Regions from separate parts of the Homo sapiens genome. Here all the other regions are linked to region 2. The links are contacts of gene promoters, found by promoter capture Hi-C in human tissues and cell types (Jung and others, 2019). All regions are on one chromosome and are shown on one strand. Each heading gives the region's core, a stretch centred on a gene start or on the middle of the fragment in contact. The rest is flanking DNA. Distances are from core to core; before and after follow the strand shown. Region 1 holds the start of C11orf86 (chromosome 11 open reading frame 86). Region 2 holds the start of RBM14 (RNA binding motif protein 14). Region 3 overlaps RIN1 (Ras and Rab interactor 1).

Region 1 (2,700 bases), core at 180-2,679, 360 kb before region 2:
CTGGCCCACCATCAGCAACTGACAAGAAGGGCAGTTGGGTCATGGCCCAGTGACCAGGCAACGTCCGTGAGCCTCTCGGCCATGGGTCTGGCTTCATCAAGCTCCGTCCTGGAAGTTGACAGCTGGTCGTGTGGGGCAGGAGCGTCCACAGCCCCCATTCCGGGCAGGCTTCTTCTAAACCTTCATAGAATCATAGTCCAAGGCCCCTACCCAAGCCCAGAGGGCAGACAGCTGAGCCCCCTTCTTTTTGACCCTGCTGGGATCTTCAAAGAGAGCTAGTGCTGGAGTGGAAGGGCCAGAGCTAAGAGTGGCAGCCACGTGGCGACTCCAGTGAGCTGGTGGCAGAAGCCTCCTAGGGCCACCCAGCCAAAGTCCAGAGAGCTGTGAAGAGGTAGGTCAGCAGACACGGTGGGCTGGTCCAGGCACAGCAAGGGGGCCACGATGGCTTCCAGCATCTTTAGCTGATGGTGCCCAGTGTGGGCTACGGGGAGGCCGGCTGACTCAGAGTCACGCTGGGGAAGATGGCGACAAAGCTCTCCCACCTTCTTCTTACCTGCTGGAAGACAGAGGTGGGGGAGGTCCCATGGGCTGAGTGGTGGGCTTAGATGTTGTTCCACCCATAGCCACGAGGTGGGGGTAGACCCCAGGTAGAGAAGCACTGCTCATTGGAGACCCTGTCTCTTAGAGGAGGGAGCCTGCAGCCCCCCACAAAGGGGTCCAGATCTCCCCTTTTTCTCTGGGGTGAGAGGGTCACACAGTGTACTTCCCAGGAAGTTGCACTGGCTGATCTCCTTGCCTCCTGCTCTATTCCCCCATCCAGCATACTATCAATCAGCTAAAAACAGCGCTTACCATATCACCCTCCTCCTCTAAAACCTTCAGTGGCTCCCCAGTGCCTGTGGGATAAATCCCAAATGCCTTCAGGGCCCTCTGAAACGTGGCTCTGGGGTGTCTCTCTCTGCACCCTCATCTCCAGGCAGCTCGGTTGTCATCTTGGTACACAGCCTGGGCTGGCTCTGTCTCTGAACCTTTCCTGCCCTGGAATCCCTGCCCACCTGCTGTGGTACCCTCCATCCTTCAGCCCACAGCCATACCTGTTGGTACCGCCTCAGCCACCACCGGCTGCCTCTTCGCTGGGCTTGGATCAGCTGCTCTGTGTCCCCCAGGCTCCCCGGCACCCGCTCCTGGGCAGTGGCATCTGGCCCTTCTGTGCCTCTCTCGAGGCCCTGGGACCTGGACTTCTCTTGCCCCTGTCTGAGGCTTAGCGCCCTGCGGAGTTGGCCCTCCTGGGGCCTCCCCCAGGGCTCCTGCAGCTTTCCATAGGAGGGTCGGGGCTCTCGCAAGGACTGACTTCGCAGCCCTGTTCCCATGGCTCCGGAGGCTGCAGGCACAGGACTGCTCCGGCCCCTCAGCAAGACACTGGCCCTCTGAGGTGGCCCAGTGCCTCCACCCATCTGACAAGAGATCACTGGGGGCAAAGGTTGGTGCTGCCAAGGTGGCTTTCATAAATCAAAGGGCAGGCCACAGGGCCAAGCATCCCTGAGTCACCTCACCACTGCCTCCCCACCTTCTGGGTCAAGGAGTGAAGGCCAAGGGGAGGAAATTGCCACTCCCTCCTTCACCTATCCTTCCCCCCTCCCCCTCCCCTCCCCCTCCCCTCCTCTCCCCCCTCCCTCCTCCCCCATCCTCCCCCCTCCTTCTCCCCTCCCCTCCCCCTTCCTTCCCCTCCCCTCTCCCTCCCCCCTCCTCCTTCTCCTCCTTCTCCTCTAGGCAGCTTCCCTGACTACCTCATCCCTGAAGAGTTTGTTCTCCTCTGAATCTCTATGGCCCCGGCATCCATTGACACTGAGCACCATGGCTTAACAACCAAACAGAGACAGCCTTTTAAGAATTGGGCCAGGCCCGGTGGCTCACGCCTGTAATCCTAGCACTTTGAGAGGCCGAGGCAGGCAGATTGCCTGAGATCAGGAGTTCCAGACCAGCCTTGCCAACATGGTAAAACCCCGTCTCTACTAAAAATACAAAAAATTAGCTGGGCATGGTGGCGGGCGCCTGTAATCCCAGCTACTCAGGAGGCTGAGGCAGGAGAATCACTTGAACCCAGAAGGCGGAGGTTGCAGTGAGCCGAGATTGTGCCACTGCACCCAACCTGGGTGACAGAGCAAGACTGCGTCTCAAAAAGAAATATATTTTTCAAAAAAGCATCAGTATGGCTCCAAGCTAGAACAATCACATTCACAAAGACAGCAAGGAGGATGGCCGTTGCCAGGCACTGGGGGAGGGAGGAATGAAGAATTTAATGGCTGTAAATTTTCAGATTTCATAAGATGAAGAGTTCCAGAGATTGGTTGCACAACAATGGTTGAAATGGTAAACTTTATGGTATATGTGTTATACAATACTGGAGAATTTCTTTTTTTTTTTTTTTTTTTTTAAGAAACAGAAGGAAACAGGACGGCTCCAGGCTAGGAGTCAGGAGGCCTGGATTTTTTCCAGGCCCAGCGCTGCCCCTAATGTCCCAGCAGCACAGCACTATCCTTGAGCACTCAAGCTCTGAGGACCAACTGCCTCTGGGTAAACTGTAGCTTCATTCCTTGCAGCCTTGTGACCTTGGGCACATTTTTCTCCTTCATTCGTAAGAGGGACAAATAACTTGGGTAATTGTTGTGCGTATTAAATGTGGTCCACAGGGCTTGGCAC
Region 2 (2,721 bases), core at 83-2,582:
TTTAGCCACTGTTTAATGAAGAGCTCTCACAGACCCCTCCCCAGGACCCCCTCAGCCAGAGTATGCCCCCCTGCAAAGTCACCAAGCTTATAAAAGAATGACACTGCCCTAGGGCACTGGCTTGGCATGTAAAGACTACGCAGAAGGGGACTTCATAAAACAAGCTTTCTTGCACATGCAAAAGGCTGGGGTTTCCAGTTGACAGATGTAAAATCGAGCCCAAAGAAAAACCCCAAGTTTGAGGGAGGAGAAAAGCACAGAGCTGCCACGCCTAACCTACCTAATATTGAAAGGCCAAAGTGATTCGGAAGGGGCCCCTCTCGTACCCACGTGTAACTGTGCCCATGAGTAGACCCATGCCAGACAAGACTAAAAGACCCCAGCCCGAGAAACGTCCAAGGGCCCCGTTACCTTCCGCTTGAGCACATTCATCGGGAGGGAACAGGAGGGCGGCCTTGGGGCGTCAGCCCCCACCTTTTCCCTCTTCCCTTGCTCTGACCGACGTCTGGAGAGGAAGTGGGGAAGTGGAGAAATCTTCCCCGCTTCATGATCCGGCTTGTGCCCGTCACTTCCCAATTTCCGCTGGGTGCCAGGCCCAGGAGACCAGGAGAAGGCGCGCCCCCGGAACACTCGCAAGGCTCTCAGGCGCGTCCCCGGCCCCGTAGCTTGGCTCGCAGTGGCCGCCGCACCCACCCAGAGCCGCTTCCTCCTACTTGGTGGACGGTTCCTGGACCGCAGGGGAGGAGGGTGGCTCTACCCAACGCGCCCCCAACACCTCCGACCTGCTCCCGCGCACTTCCCCACCCCTCCCAACCGCGCAGTGACCGACCCCCGGGTAAGGGGCGTGGCTAACAGGCAGAGTGCCCCGAGCGCGCCCCCGCCCCCGAGCGCGCCTCCGCGTTACCTTTCACCACGTCACACTCGATGACGCGTCCGCGGCGCTCGAAGAGGCTGCGCAGTTCCTGGCTCGTGCATGCAGCCGACACATTGCCCACGAAAATCTTCCAAGTATTAAGAGGCCTTGGGCGCGACATCTCCACCACGAGCGCGCGCCCCGGCCGCAGCTCGTGGCCGTGCAGGGCTTCGATGGCGCGCAGCGCGCCCGCGTTCTCGCGCATGTGCACGAAGGCGAACTGTTTCATGACGGCGCAGCTCATGACCGTGCCGTAGGGCGCAAAGAGGGCTGCCAGCTCCTCCGGAGTCGTATCCGCCCCGTCGACGTTGCCCACGAATATCTTCATTTTGTCGCCGCAGCCACCTTCCTGGAGAGCCCGGACCTCTCCTCCAGCGACAGGCAAGACGTCCGAACGACCGGCAGTCCTCCTCAGGAATGGCTGGCGACCGAGAACCCCGCCGCGCAGGCGCCCTGGCCTAGCCAATGGGGACTCGCATCCCGCGCGTCCAGCGACCAATCAGAAACGCTGAGGGAAGATGTGCTCAGGCACAGCCAATCCCAGAGGGCCTAGAGCCCGCTCGTTAGCTGAGGGGGTGGGAAAGGGACGACCAACCGCCACAGCCCGTGGCGGGAGAGGGGGTTGGGAAGAAGAGGGAGGGCTGAAGAGAGGAGAACGCGCGCGAGCGGCGCCGGCGGCAGAGAGGCCTAGTCTGTAAGGCGGTCTCTGGCCCGGGTGGGGCTGGGACCGGCGGGCTCCCAGGAAAACTTTGTACAATTGGAAGTCAGGGCTCCTCCCATTCTGGAAGCCCTGTCCAAACCCGCGCCTGGGGGTTGCCGCGTGAGTGTACGGGGGAAGGCCGGGCCTGGCGGGAGAAACCAGGACAGGCGCCTTGAGTCGGCAAACGGCTCCCAGGACTGTGCTGAGCACCGCGAGGGGACCTGAGGCAGGCCCCGGAGAAGCCCTCGTGCCATTAATTGATTCTTTGGAAACATTCCCTGGGGTTGCTGAGGTCCTGGCAGCCGGTGAAAAATCAAAGGCCTCTGCCCTGATGGAATTCCCAGTCAAGAAATAATGGAATGACGTTATTGTATGTTGAAGGTTTTCATAATAAACAGTTTAATAAACGAGAAAATTAATTCTGCAGGAAGCAAAAGTTGAGCCTTAAAAAAAATTTTAGTCCGGGAGCGGTGGCTCACGCCTGTAATTCCAGCACTTTGGGAGACCAAGGCAAGCAGATCACCGGAGGTCAGGAGTTCAGGACCAGCCTGGCCAAAATGGTGAAACCCCGTCTCTACTAAAAATACAAAATTAGCCGGGTGTGGTGGTGCGCGCCTGTAATCCCAGCTACTTGGGAGGCTGAGGCAGGAGAATCACTTGAACCCGGAAGGCGGAGGTTGCAGTGAGCCAAGATCACGCCACTGCACTCCAGCATGGGCGACAGTGAGATTCCGTCTCAAAAATTTTTTTAAACAGATTTGAGTATGTAAATAAGATTGTTGCATGGCAGACAACATCAAAAACATAGACATGTGACAAACTCAGGGAAATATTTGCCTACGTGTTCAGTCAACAAATAGCACCTACCATGTGGACACCACCAAGAATATAGCAGTGAACAAAAAAAAATGACAGAAATCCCAACCTTCTTGGATCTTATGGTGGGGAGAAACAGGCAAGAAATAAGTAAAACATAAGCGTGTTAGATGGTGATGAGGACTTGGAGTAATCAAGGGAACTAAGCCATCCTCTGAGGGAAGATCATGCCGGCCAGAAAGTACAAGTCAAAGAGTGCTGGGGCAGAAGCAAATCTGGTTCAAGGAAGAGT
Region 3 (2,700 bases), core at 152-2,651, 290 kb after region 2:
CCCTGAACCAGCTCTGTGCCACCAAGTTCCGAGTGACCCAGCCCAACACTTTTGGCCTCTTCCTGTACAAGGAGCAGGGCTACCACCGCCTGCCCCCTGGGGCCCTGGCCCACAGGCTGCCCACCACTGGCTACCTCGTCTACCGCCGGGCGGAGTGGCCTGAGACCCAGGGGGCTGTGACAGAGGAGGAGGGCAGTGGGCAGTCAGAGGCAAGAAGCAGAGGGGAGGAGCAAGGGTGCCAGGGAGATGGGGATGCTGGGGTCAAAGCCAGCCCCAGGGACATTCGGGAACAGTCTGAGACAACTGCTGAAGGGGGCCAGGGTCAAGCCCAGGAAGGCCCTGCTCAGCCAGGGGAACCAGAGGCAGAGGGAAGCCGGGCAGCAGAGGAGTAGCTTGAAGTGGCCAGAAGGGTCATTCGGGGCGGGAGACCCTGAGCCTGCTGAGAAATCCTTTTAGCGCCAGCAAGCCCCACCCAGGGCCCTGTCCTGTGTCTGCCACCACCTTTGTCTGATACTTGTTTCCAGGGAAGCTGGGGGAACTGCCACATCTGAGGAACTGGAATAAAGATGAGGGGGCTTCGGGGGCCCCCAGACTGTGTGCCCAAGGCCCCTTGCCTCTTGTTCTTCTCCCCCAGCTGAGGGTGAGCCAGCCTGCAATGAGGGTGTGCCAAGTGGGGGCGAATCCGACAGATGCCCAACCTCTGACGTGGGGAGGGTGACGGTCTCAGCTCCTTTTACCCTTCCCCTCATGGGCATGGCTGAGGCAGGGCTCCACCCAAGTATCTCCCACCAGGCTGGGACTTCCAGACCCTAAAAGGTTCCAATGGCTCTTAGGTGTCAGGAGGATTTAGAGAGGCCACAGAACAGCAGCAAAGGCTTGGGGCCCACCCCTGTCCTGGACACCAGAAGGACCTGCACCTGCAAGCCTCAGTACTCTCATCTGTAAAGTGGGGACACTATTGCTGCCCTGCTCGGCTCCCAGAAGTGTCCCAGTGATCAAAATGGGTGATTTTGCTACAAGCAGAGCTCATGGCAGAAAGGGAGGGAGAGAGCTGGGCTGCTAACTCTCTCCCGGAGTCCGCTCTCTGCCAGACAGGGCTCCCACCTGCTGATGCCCAGTTCAGGGAGGTTATTCCCCTGGAAATCAGGCCCTGGGGAGAAAGTACCCAAGTTACAGTCTCTCCCCAAGATTTGGAGTCCTCCCAGGCCCTCCAGCATCTCTGGGGAGATCCACCAGCTGGCAGATAAGCTTCCAGAATGGAGAGGGGGCTCAGAAACCATGCTCTCTGCACTAAACTCTTGGCCCTCACAAAAGCTTTACTTGGCCATGACTTGTTGGGCCCACTGAGGGTCAGGAAAGTGACTCCCAGGATGTCATATAGCAAGTCCTTAAGGGTTCCCCCGCCCAAACCAGGGCATCAGGTTCCAACTCCACCCTCCATTCTAAGCCACCCACAAAGGCCGGGGCAGCCCCCAAGGAAGCCCAGAGCAGGCAGCAAATCCAAACAAGGAAAAGTGCCGACCACCAACCACGAGGGGGTGTGCACGGCCCGGGAATCTGCCGAGAGGGTGACCACCCAGGGGTGAGGGCGCCTCCAAGGCTGCAGCAGCAGAGGGGGTCCCGGGCCTTGCAGTCCAGCAGCATCAGGCAACCTGGGGACAGCGCAGGGGCCAAGGCCACTGGCCCCCAGGTCCCTTAGATTCTGGGGTCTGGGTAAGGCCAGCCTCTTGGGGGCCATCCCCAGGAAGGAAGGAATTGTCCCCTTATGGAGGATGACCCCAGAGGCTCTCTCCTCGGGCACTGAGCACAGAGGGGACGTCAGCCCAAATGTCAGACATGACAACTGGGAGGTAGAAATCGTGGACATTGGCTTTTTGGGTTTTTTTGTTTGTTTGTTTGTTTGAGATGGAGTTTTGCTCTGTCGCTCTGGCTAAAGTGCAGTGGTGCCATCTCGGCTCACAGCAACCTTCGCCTCCCAGTTCAAGTGATTCTCCTGCCTCAGCCTCCCGAGTAGCTGGGACTACAGGTGTGCACCACCACACCTGGCTAATTTTTGTGTTACTAGTAGAGACGGGGTTTCCCCATGTTGGCCAGGCTGGTCTCAAACTCCCGACCTCAGGTGATCCGCCCGCCTTGGCCTCCCAAAGTACTGGGATTACAGGCGTGAGCTACCACACCCAGCCAGACATTGACTTTCAGATGAGCAGTCCAGATACAGCCCAGTTGCACGGCTCCCATTTTTTTTGTCACTAGGCCACCAGCAGCTCTTCCCTCCCCACTTCCACGCCCTCCCAAGGTTCTCGCTGATAGGAAGTGTCCCGTTGGCTCTTCTATTCCCCTCCCTGTTTCACCACTCACCCCTAGTGCCTCACACAGTCCAATGCTGAGCACAAATGCCATAGGTGTTCAATAAATGTTGTTCACTGATTGGAGTTTGATAACCAGGAGTGAGGGACAGTGAGGCAGAAACCTGGGGAGTATAAGGGAGGACTCGGTTCTGGGAATCAAACACGGGATGTGTCAAGCTCAGTCCCAGAGGAAGGACCTGGAATGTTTGTAGAGGGTGCTCGGAGGATCCCAGGGGCCGGATGTACAACTGGCCTCATGGGAATGAGGCTCTGGGGCCTCTACAAGCCCTTCCCACCCTTGCCAGGCTCAGCATGACCTGACCCCCTCCCTGCCCTCCCCAGTGATGGGGCA

What was found. Contacts are between HindIII fragments. The study calls those that stand out against the background at their distance.
Region 1: a contact is called between the fragment with the promoter of C11orf86 here and the fragment with the promoter of RBM14 in region 2, in 3 of the 25 tissues and cell types used here (adrenal gland, dorsolateral prefrontal cortex and heart left ventricle).
Region 3: a fragment that was not itself captured here is called in contact with the fragment with the promoter of RBM14 in region 2 in 1 of the 25 tissues and cell types used here (thymus).

The regions. Positions count from the first base shown.
Region 1 is chr11:66,974,033-66,976,732 of GRCh38, reverse strand. C11orf86 (chromosome 11 open reading frame 86) reads right to left here and starts at 1,429. Exons shown (of 2, transcript NM_001353554.2): 1 at 1,095-1,429; 2 at 1-556. The coding sequence starts at 1,370. The coding sequence ends at 482. RefSeq lists an enhancer at 245-748. The HindIII fragment of the contact is 14,679 bases long and covers 1-2,700 here.
Region 2 is chr11:66,615,241-66,617,961 of GRCh38, reverse strand. RBM14 (RNA binding motif protein 14) reads right to left here and starts at 1,332. Exons shown (of 3, transcript NM_006328.4): 1 at 905-1,332. The coding sequence starts at 1,241. It overlaps RBM14-RBM4 (RBM14-RBM4 readthrough), which reads right to left and starts at 1,332. Exons shown (of 2, transcript NM_001198846.2): 1 at 905-1,332. The coding sequence starts at 1,241. RefSeq lists enhancers at 1,087-1,316, 449-1,382, 1,747-1,856. The HindIII fragment of the contact is 10,275 bases long and covers 1-2,721 here.
Region 3 is chr11:66,329,968-66,332,667 of GRCh38, reverse strand. It overlaps RIN1 (Ras and Rab interactor 1), which reads left to right. Exons shown (of 10, transcript NM_004292.3): 10 at 1-2,427. The coding sequence ends at 392. Among named protein-coding and RNA genes, the nearest start is that of RIN1, 5.1 kb to the left of the region's middle. The HindIII fragment of the contact is 6,220 bases long and covers 1-2,700 here.